2 separate regions of the Homo sapiens genome follow, and region 2 is linked to region 1. The links are contacts of gene promoters, found by promoter capture Hi-C in blood cells and fetal thymus (Javierre and others, 2016). All regions are on one chromosome and are shown on one strand. The core of a region is centred on a gene start or on the middle of the fragment in contact, and the rest is flanking DNA. Distances in the headings are between cores, read along the strand shown.

Evidence for each region. Contacts are between HindIII fragments. The CHiCAGO score rates a contact against its expected background, and 5 or more counts as called.
Region 2: a contact is called between the fragment with the promoter of ARPC5 here and the fragment with the promoter of EDEM3 in region 1, in 4 of 17 cell types (naive CD8 T cells, fetal thymus, activated CD4 T cells and 1 more). The highest score is 6.8, in naive CD8 T cells.

What each region holds. Positions count from the first base shown.
Region 1 is chr1:184,752,227-184,756,605 of GRCh38, reverse strand. EDEM3 (ER degradation enhancing alpha-mannosidase like protein 3) reads left to right here and starts at 1,748. Exons shown (of 20, transcript NM_025191.4): 1 at 1,748-2,117. The coding sequence starts at 1,960. It overlaps LOC105371649 (a long non-coding RNA gene), which reads right to left and starts at 1,432. Exons shown (of 3, transcript XR_922357.4): 1 at 1,073-1,432. RefSeq lists enhancers at 1,495-1,594, 2,065-2,164. The HindIII fragment of the contact is 1,960 bases long and covers 155-2,114 here.
Region 2 is chr1:183,633,496-183,637,874 of GRCh38, reverse strand. ARPC5 (actin related protein 2/3 complex subunit 5) reads left to right here and starts at 2,092. Exons shown (of 4, transcript NM_005717.4): 1 at 2,092-2,358. The coding sequence starts at 2,216. It also overlaps a transcript of RGL1 not described here. RefSeq lists silencers at 1,809-1,968, 2,449-2,498, 2,579-2,638, 2,590-2,808 and enhancers at 2,119-2,398, 2,396-2,896. The HindIII fragment of the contact is 3,712 bases long and covers 1-3,061 here.

The DNA.
Region 1 (4,379 bases), core at 499-2,998:
AGTGGTCCCTGGTGCCAAAAAAGTTGGGGACTACTGGATAAAAGGACCATATTATTCCCACTTTATAGATAAGAAAACTGCAGGAATAAGGAAGCAAGTATATTTAACATTTATTGAGACACTGCAATAGTTTAGGAGAGAGGTAATGGAAGCTTGAATGGAGCAAAAGTGGGAATAGAAAGAAAGGTAATAATCTGAAAGATAGAAGAGGTAAAATCTATATAATTTGGTAATTAATTGCACGTGGACCCCGAAGGCTAAAGATGAGTTGACAATGATTCCGATGCATTAATTTGAATCAGAAAACATCTTACGTTTGAGCTACCCTTGGGCTAGACATTAGGACATTTCTATTAGGGAGGTGGAAATGTGGGTCTAATGATCAGGACAGATATTGATTTAGAAATCAACCACAGAGATATGTTGGCTGAATCCTTATGAGAAGAAATCACCAAGGAATAATTAGAGTACAGAGAGAAAAAGGACAAAAAGAAAACCTTAAGGGAACACCTGTATTTTAATATAAAGTAGCGAGAGAATGAAGGAAAACGGGTCAGCCAGAGAAGAGGTAAGAGGTTAAGAGGTAAGAGGTAAGGTGATAAAAGTCAAGGAAGAAACGTTTCCAGAAAGACCGCCGAATACTGCTTAAAGGACACGTAAGTAATTTACTGTGGTCACAGAGATCACATCGAAGCTCCTAAACTCCGCACCTATTGAATGACCACACTAGAAAAACAATGTGGTTTTTCAAGAGGAACCGATGTGTCATTTTACCAATAGTTAACCTGGGACTCGGTCATCAAAATTCATTGCAAGTTCCAATCTCCTTCATTAAACCTTCTTTGCAGCCCACACAGCTCTCCTTACATTGAGCTTTTGAGGTAACTATTATTAATCATGTACGAGGACCCACGTGCTCCTTCATCCTTGTAGTACTGCGCGGTGGTTAAATGCAAGGGCTTCCGAATCAGAGGCTGGATGGATTCTAATACAGCAGTGTGACGAGCTCTTGTTAACCAACTTTTCTAAGCCTCTGTTTTCTCGTCTGCAAAAGGGGGATGGTGGTACTTACTCTATCAGAGTTGAGAAGAGTGCATGAGATGATTGCGAGTAAAAACCTTAGCGCAATGCCTTCAAAGGCTCAATTCATTTTGCTGTTACTGTGTTTTGGAATTTCCCTGAGGGTAGACGACTACTCCAACACTATTCCCTAACGCAGCAGCACTGACATGGGGACAGTGCGCCTCATTCAGCCAGCTCTCTGGGAAACAACTTTCTGAGGAAGAGAGATAAACAGCTGACGGGTTTCCCGGGACTCCGCAGCCCACCGAGACAGGGTTGACTGTAGGGCGCCGAGGAAAGGGGGAGGTGGGATCCCAGCAACCACTGGCGACCTCGGAGGACCGCAAGTCCCAGGGTGCAGCGCGCCTACCCCGGGTAGAAGCGAGAGACACGGCTCCGAGTCGGCTCGCGGGAGAGCCGGGGAAGAAGCAGTGCACACTGGGACTGGTAGTCCTCAGGGGGCAACTCCGCGGGTCGGAGGCGGGTCGAAGCGAGAGATCCCTTCCCAGTCCCGCCTTTTGTCCACGTCTCACTTCTCCTGGCCAATGCCCTCTCCAGTCGCCGGAGACAGCCCCTCTCCCATGAGGTCTCCATTGGTCCTGAGGCTCTACGGCTTCGGCCCTACCCGGAAGTAACGTTGGGGAGGCGGTTTCCTAGACTACGACACCGGAAAGCTGGGGGAGGCGCTCCGGGATACTGAGGGCGGAGGGCGGTGGCAGCGCTGGCGCTGGGGACCGGCTTGGTGGCTTCGGGAAACAGTTTGGCGCCGGCGGCCGTCCGTGTTACTCCGCATCCCGCCCCGTCTCGGCACGGCTAGCAGCCCCCTGGCCACCAGCGTCCAGCAATGTGTCTCACCGGCCGGGCGTAGCAGCTGCGCGTGCGCGGAACCGCGGGGCCATGAGCGAAGCCGGCGGCCGGGGCTGTGGGTCCCCGGTTCCCCAGCGAGCGCGATGGAGACTAGTGGCGGCGACGGCCGCGTTCTGCCTGGTGTCGGCCACCTCCGTGTGGACGGCGGGGGCCGAGCCCATGAGTAGGGAGGAGAAACAGAAGCTTGGGTAAGGGTGCTGGCAGCCTGGGGTGGGTTTCTCGGTGAGGCTGACAACAGGAGGGGTGCCTGTCATTGCGACCCGGTCGCGTAGTGGCCTCTCCTGTCGCGATTGGAACGGCTCTTCCCGCGCGAGAACCCTAGAGGGGTGGACAGGGTCCGGGGAGGTGGGAACCGCCGCCCGCGACCTGACCTCGGGGGAGCTGACGGGGTGTCGCCCTGGCCGCCGGTGACATGTGCAGGCTCCTTGAAGCCAGGCGCGGTGTGTCAACGCGGCTGCCATGTCAGTGGCCCAAGAAGGGGGCTACAGCCCGCATCGCTGCGCGCTGGAGTTCTGCGGTTGGCTGCCTGTCGACCGAAGCATGGTTAGCTTTCTCGCGCAAGTGAGCTTCCAACTGGGAAAATGTTGCTGATCTCACAGTAGTTAAGGAAATGATGTTTACACCTGTTACGGAAAAGGGGGCGTTCATTGGAACTTGAACTTTACACATTTTACTATTTCCTTGCAGTGTTTTCTTGCACTGTATTTTCATAATAGAATGTTTGGGGGGAAATTATTCAAAAGTCTCAAGTATACCTATTCAGTAGTTTTTATCCGTCTTGGAAGTGTGTTAAAATTATCAATTCTATTTACACCATTTAATTCAGAGTAATACATACACGAGGTCCTACACATGAATAAGAAAAAAGCGAAGAACCAGTAGGAAATGGGAGAAAGGCATGAACGGTTAAGCCAGAAGAGGAAATGGAAGTGGTAAATAAACATGAAAAGTTACTCAACCTCCATAAACGTAGGAGATGCAGATTAAAACGAGGAGCTAGCTGGTTTTTGCCCATCAGATTAGTAAATATAATACAAAACACAAGGATACGGTTCTGGTTAGTTAAGGAATAGAAAAAAAAGGCTTAGTGAGAGTGTAAATTGCTGTAACTTATTGGTAGTATCTACTAAAATTTAAATTGTGCACACTTTGATTCATCAGTTCTATTTCTGAGAATCTACCCTAAGAAAATAAAAGCACTCTTAATGCAGAGATAGATCCAGCCTGGGCAACAAGAGCGAAACTCTGTCTCGAAAAAAAAAAAAAAAAGTGCATTTTGAAAGAACAGCTCTTCCTTGGAGGAAATGGTTCAATAGGGTACGTTCATATTATGGAATAATATTGAGACATTAAGAAGAAGGAAGTACGTCACTGGAAGCCTATCCAGAATATATTTCCAAAACAAAAAAAAATGCAAGTTGTAGAATAATATGTATAGTATCATCCCATGTTTTTTTTAAAAAAGAAAAAAAAAATCTGAGCTCAGAAAAAAAGTGGAACGAAGATTATCTCATGGGGTTAGGCTGGAGGGGTGGTGGAACCATCAGGTCTTACTTTATGTACTTTAAATCATTGCAAAGAGTCTTGTATTCGTTTCTAAATAGCAATAAAGGTCACTTGATGGAAAAAAGCTGAAGTATCAACCATCAAAATAAAATTACCGGTAAACTCTAATAAATATCTTACATTTTCTCTCATATGAATTTAATGTATCATTGATAAGTTTTACCAAATATCTCACTCTGTGAATACTTTACATATGTTATCTCTGTACTCCTTCCTATTTCCCAATGAATATGATCCACATTTGCAAATGAGGAAGTTGAGACCCAAGGTTGACTTGTTCAGCCACAAAGCTAGTAATTGGTAGAGCCAGCATTCAAACCCAAGCCTGTCTGATCCCAGAGCCAGGCTCTCTCCAGTATGTTGCACGTTCATTAGACTTGGAAGAGAAGTATCAAGTCTGTTAAGAACCACAAGAATCTTATTTGACTATCACTACCCTTTCTTCATTTTTTATTAAAAACTTATTTGTAAAAGAGTCATTGGATAAATCATTTTTGACCAAAATTAGTTTTTAACTGGAAAAGTTCAACCAAATTGGCTTGAAATTTCAGCTCAAATTTTGAGATCATTTATGAAAGTGAAATTACAATTATTTAGGCTTGTTAGATTGCTCTACCCTTGAGTAAGGGTAGGGTAAGAATCTAGAGCTATAAACGACAAATACACAATTATATGACTGCTTTCTCTGGGAATTTTCAGAAAACTGAACTTTGATTCATTAGGTTTACCTGTGCATTTTTTAAAGCCCAAATAATGATTCATGATAAAAAGCAGAAAATGCCCCACCCCTTTCCCTCCCCACCAACAAACCAAATAGTTGATAAAGACTGGAATTGTCATGAATAGTAAGCAATTGCTCAATAACTTACACTTTGTGGAATTAC
Region 2 (4,379 bases), core at 843-3,342, 1.1 Mb after region 1:
CCATTCACCATAGTAATGATTTTATACTTTGGTATATGGCTTTTTAAAATAAATATTGCCAACAGGTAAAAATTTTTCCTTTGCTGTCTTAAGGCATTCCTAAGAGAATTTTTACCAGTGTGTGTTCATAACTTGAATGTTAATTTAAACAATGTTACTTCTATCACCTAAATGATATACTTATAGAAGAGTGGTTTAATTGGGAACAGAAAAACACCACATTGCTTCTTCCCAAGAAAAAGGGATGTATTCCATTCTCGAGGTCTCTCTCCCACTCTCTATTTATATATAATATACTGCATAGATAAATATACACACATTATATATGTATTTTTTTGAACTTAAAGAAGACTGGACATATGTATTTACATGTATATATCCAACAAATATTTAATTTTGAGATCTCTCTCCCTCTTCTGATTTATTATTCTCAGTATGATTCTCAAACTGTACGGTCTTTCACATTTCATTCATTCATCAAGCATGTATCGAGTCCCTTCTGCATGCTTAGCTTTTTGTCATATGGAAGGAAGATACAAAAGAAAAACTGTTTCTGCCCTTCAGAATCTTTCCATCTCTTCTAGGAAGGAGATAAAACACCATATATCATTAAGAAATTTATAAGACTAGTCCCAAAACCAATGGTACAAGCAACATGCATTTTACATTTATGTAGAATTTTAGAGCTTGGAAACACTTTCGTGATATATAATCCTAAGAACAATCTTGTAAAGTGCACATTATTAGCTCCATTTCAGTGATGAGGAATCTGAGACAGAATTTTAAGTGACATGTCTCGTTCAAACATTATGAGTGGAAGAGTCAACACTTAAGCCTGAGTTTTCTGATTCTAAGCCTAGTGCTCTTTTCAACACAGCACTGGAAACCAAAGATTGTGGTACACAACAGGGCAACAGCCAGTCTTCTGCTCGAGGTCCAACTAAACTGGACCCATACCGAGCAGTGTCCAGCCAAATGTCCAAATTAATTTTATCCTGCAAATATTTGTTCTTCAGTGTAATACACACAGCACAACTACCATTTCCTTCGTCTTAGTGCCTTTATCTCCTACATTCCAGAAATGGGGATGTCAAATATTTTTTTAAATCTGGCCTAGATGGAATCATATAAATCTCAAATCATAATATAAATCTTAAAGGTCTGGTTTCCACCAATCCTTCCACATTTTGTTTTCCCCCAGCACTAGAGAGCCTAACCTACCCTCACCCCTTTCGAGCATTCTTGCTCCAAACGACCACCTATTTTAAGATGTCAATGACCCTTTCCCAAATTCTACAAATTCACCCCAGTTTTGCCACCCGACCCCAGCGCCTGCCCGGACACGTTCCCCTCCCTCCCAATAGATTTGATACCGAGTTCAGGTTCTGCAGATCCCGTTGCGATGCTGTCACACAGCACTGACAGATAAGATTTGACCTTTCGACTCCGTCCTTGGGGACTTCCCGCTGGCCAAGAAGGGTAGTTCCAATCCCAGGAAACGGGCTTCCTGCTCAGGAACGCAGCCTCTAGCAGCGCACAGTCTGAGGCAATGTCTCCGGCAATTAGAACGATGCTGGGCGCCCGGGTGTGCATCACTCTGCCTCATACTCCTACCAACTGCAGGGCACTCGGTCCGGCAGCCAGTCCATCCCACCCACAGCCAAGTCCCAGCCAGCCGGACCTTACGCAGGACCCCGATGATAGGTCGTTGACGGCTGCAGCAAAAGCCAAGGCCACCTGCCGCTGCTGCCCATCCCCGCCAATCTGAGACCCCCTAGACTGGACCGCAGAAAAGCGTTTCTATGGGAACCCCCCCACCGAGAATCACGTGACGCAATCGGACGACCAATCGCTTCTTACCTCTGCCCGCGGTCCAGCTTTTGGCCCTCCCTCTCGCCCCCGCCTCCTTCGCCCAGCCCCGCCCCTTGCCTGCGGAGAGCCCGCGCCTGCGCGCTGTGTCCTGCGCGCTCCTTCCCTCGCGCGCGCTCTCCGTGGAAGAGCAGGGGCAGCGTGGGAGGCGCCAAGGGAGCGCGAACCTGAGGAGGAAGAAACGGGGCTAGCGCGCAGGCCCAGAACGGTCCGAGCCGCGGCAGTCGGCGACGCCTCAGAGCGGAAGAGGGAAGTGAATCAGGCGCCGGGTAGTGGGTTGCTGGGCTGGGCTTGCTGAGGTAGAGGCAGCGCCAAGAAGAGGCCTTTGCCGCTGGTCGGGATTGGGATGTCGAAGAACACAGTGTCGTCGGCCCGCTTCCGGAAGGTGGACGTGGATGAATATGACGAGAACAAGTTCGTGGACGAAGAAGATGGGGGCGACGGCCAGGCCGGGCCCGACGAGGGCGAGGTGGACTCCTGCCTGCGGCAATATCCTTGCATTCACCGCCCTCCCCACCCCAGCCCAGCCCAGCCCGCCCTTCTCCTGGGACCCGGGAGCCTGCAGGATCCGCGGGGCACCGGCGCGGAGCTGCCCTCTCAACCTGCGGCTTAACCTGTCTCTTTGGGATCGCCCGCTCTGAGAGGGCAAGGGGGAAGCCCCCGTTTCCTACCCAGTCGGCAGGAGACGCGAGGGTCCCACTCTTGGAAGCCTGCCCTCCCCCGCGCGCCTTCCACGCCCCCAGATTCCTCAGGTTGCACCCGAGTGCCTGCCTGCCTCGGGAACTGGTCCCGCCGGCCGCGCCCTCGCGGCGCTGGGGAAGGCGGCCCCGGCTGGTGGGGAAGGCTGGTGCCGAGCGCCTTAGTTTTTCTTCCTAGAACTCTGATTTCCTGGGGTCACATTAGCTCCAGAAATTTCTGATTGTGGGGAACCTGCATCTTTCCTTAGTGGTTTTGTTTTTTGTTGTGTTTTTGTTATTGGTAGCGTTAAGGTAGTTTATTCCTTACCGGGGGGCGGGGGGAGATGGGACTGTTCGAAAATTGAGGGTCCCTGTGCTTTCAGCCCATTGGCCTTTTTAAAAAAAAAAAAAAAAGAAGAAGAAGAAGGGGATTTGGCAAAATATACATTGTACAGAATTTGTTAACTGGGGGAGGGGAATGAATACAAAAAATACAAAACTCCTAGAAGGAAGCTTGGAGCCTTTTACCTGCTAAGAAAAGGACAATAGAAAAAACAACGGGGAATGCGTGTGGAGAATCCTTGGAAATATTTAAAATAAACCCCAATGAATAAGATAGAAGATGAGTCATTCGTATAAAGCAGAATCATTTTTGTAATCCTAAAATTGTTTCCATTTTAGTTAAAATATGGCAGTCAGTTCCCGGTTTCTGTTTTTGCATATTTGAATATTCATAACTTTGGCTTCGCATTTGCATTACATCTTTTTTAGAAAAATGTAAATGTTGCAAAAAAACCGAAGCTGTAGTTTTAGAAAATCTCAGACACTGAATTTGTATGCATTTCTAATTCTTGGGTGTATTCATAAGGAAGACTCTCAACAATGTCCTGTTATAGTGGGGAAATATGAGAGTGAAAATATTTAATGGCAACAATATCCTTTTTTAAAGGCACCTAAATAGAGCATTAGACATTTATCAATATATAGATAGTGCTTTGCCACAACTTTCACAATTAATTAGCTGTTGCTCTTTTGCATTATTTAAATACTTAAGTGCTTGGAGTTATAAAAAATGAGCTAATCTACATCAGGCATGCTTCTCTAGAAATCCCTGCAGCCTTGAAAATAACAGCTTGTCAACCAGAGATTTTGTGTAAGAACTTTTTCTTTAGAAAATAAATGGTGAACATGCTTCCTAAAAACATTATTTGTGATGGATAGATGGTGTTTTATGAAACCCCAGTGTATTTTAGGTAATTTGTGGTGACTTTTAAATGGTACTGCTGTATCCATATCAGTGGATCTGCTTTTTGATCAGTTCATCTTAAAATATAAAGATACTGTCTCTTCTTACCGTTACATACAGCCAGGAAAGACAGCCCTAGTGGTGGGGTACTAGAGTTGGAGGAACAAGTGAACTCTGTGGTTTTCCTTTTAGGGGAATGTTTGTACATTCTGACAGTCTGATTGGCCTTCTGTTTCTCATGCTTGCTAACTCACTAGTGCTTTCAAAGAGAGCCTGAATTTAATAGGTATGGTCTAACACAGTTTGAATAACCTTTGTGAAATATGAGAGAAAATATCTAAAGCAAAAAATTAAGCTGCCACCTAAGGGACATATGAATTATTACATCTTCTGTGATGCCTCTTTTCATCAATATTGAGAGATTGCTAATGTGTATCATTCAGATTGCTAATCTGCCAGCATGTTCTACCAGCATTTCAGATAATACAGAATATGGTTCTAGCAAAAGTTTGGTCTTTATTTTTTCAATTAGAATCACAGGAAAAGACATATTTTGGTTGATAATAGGTTATTTCATTTGGGGGACT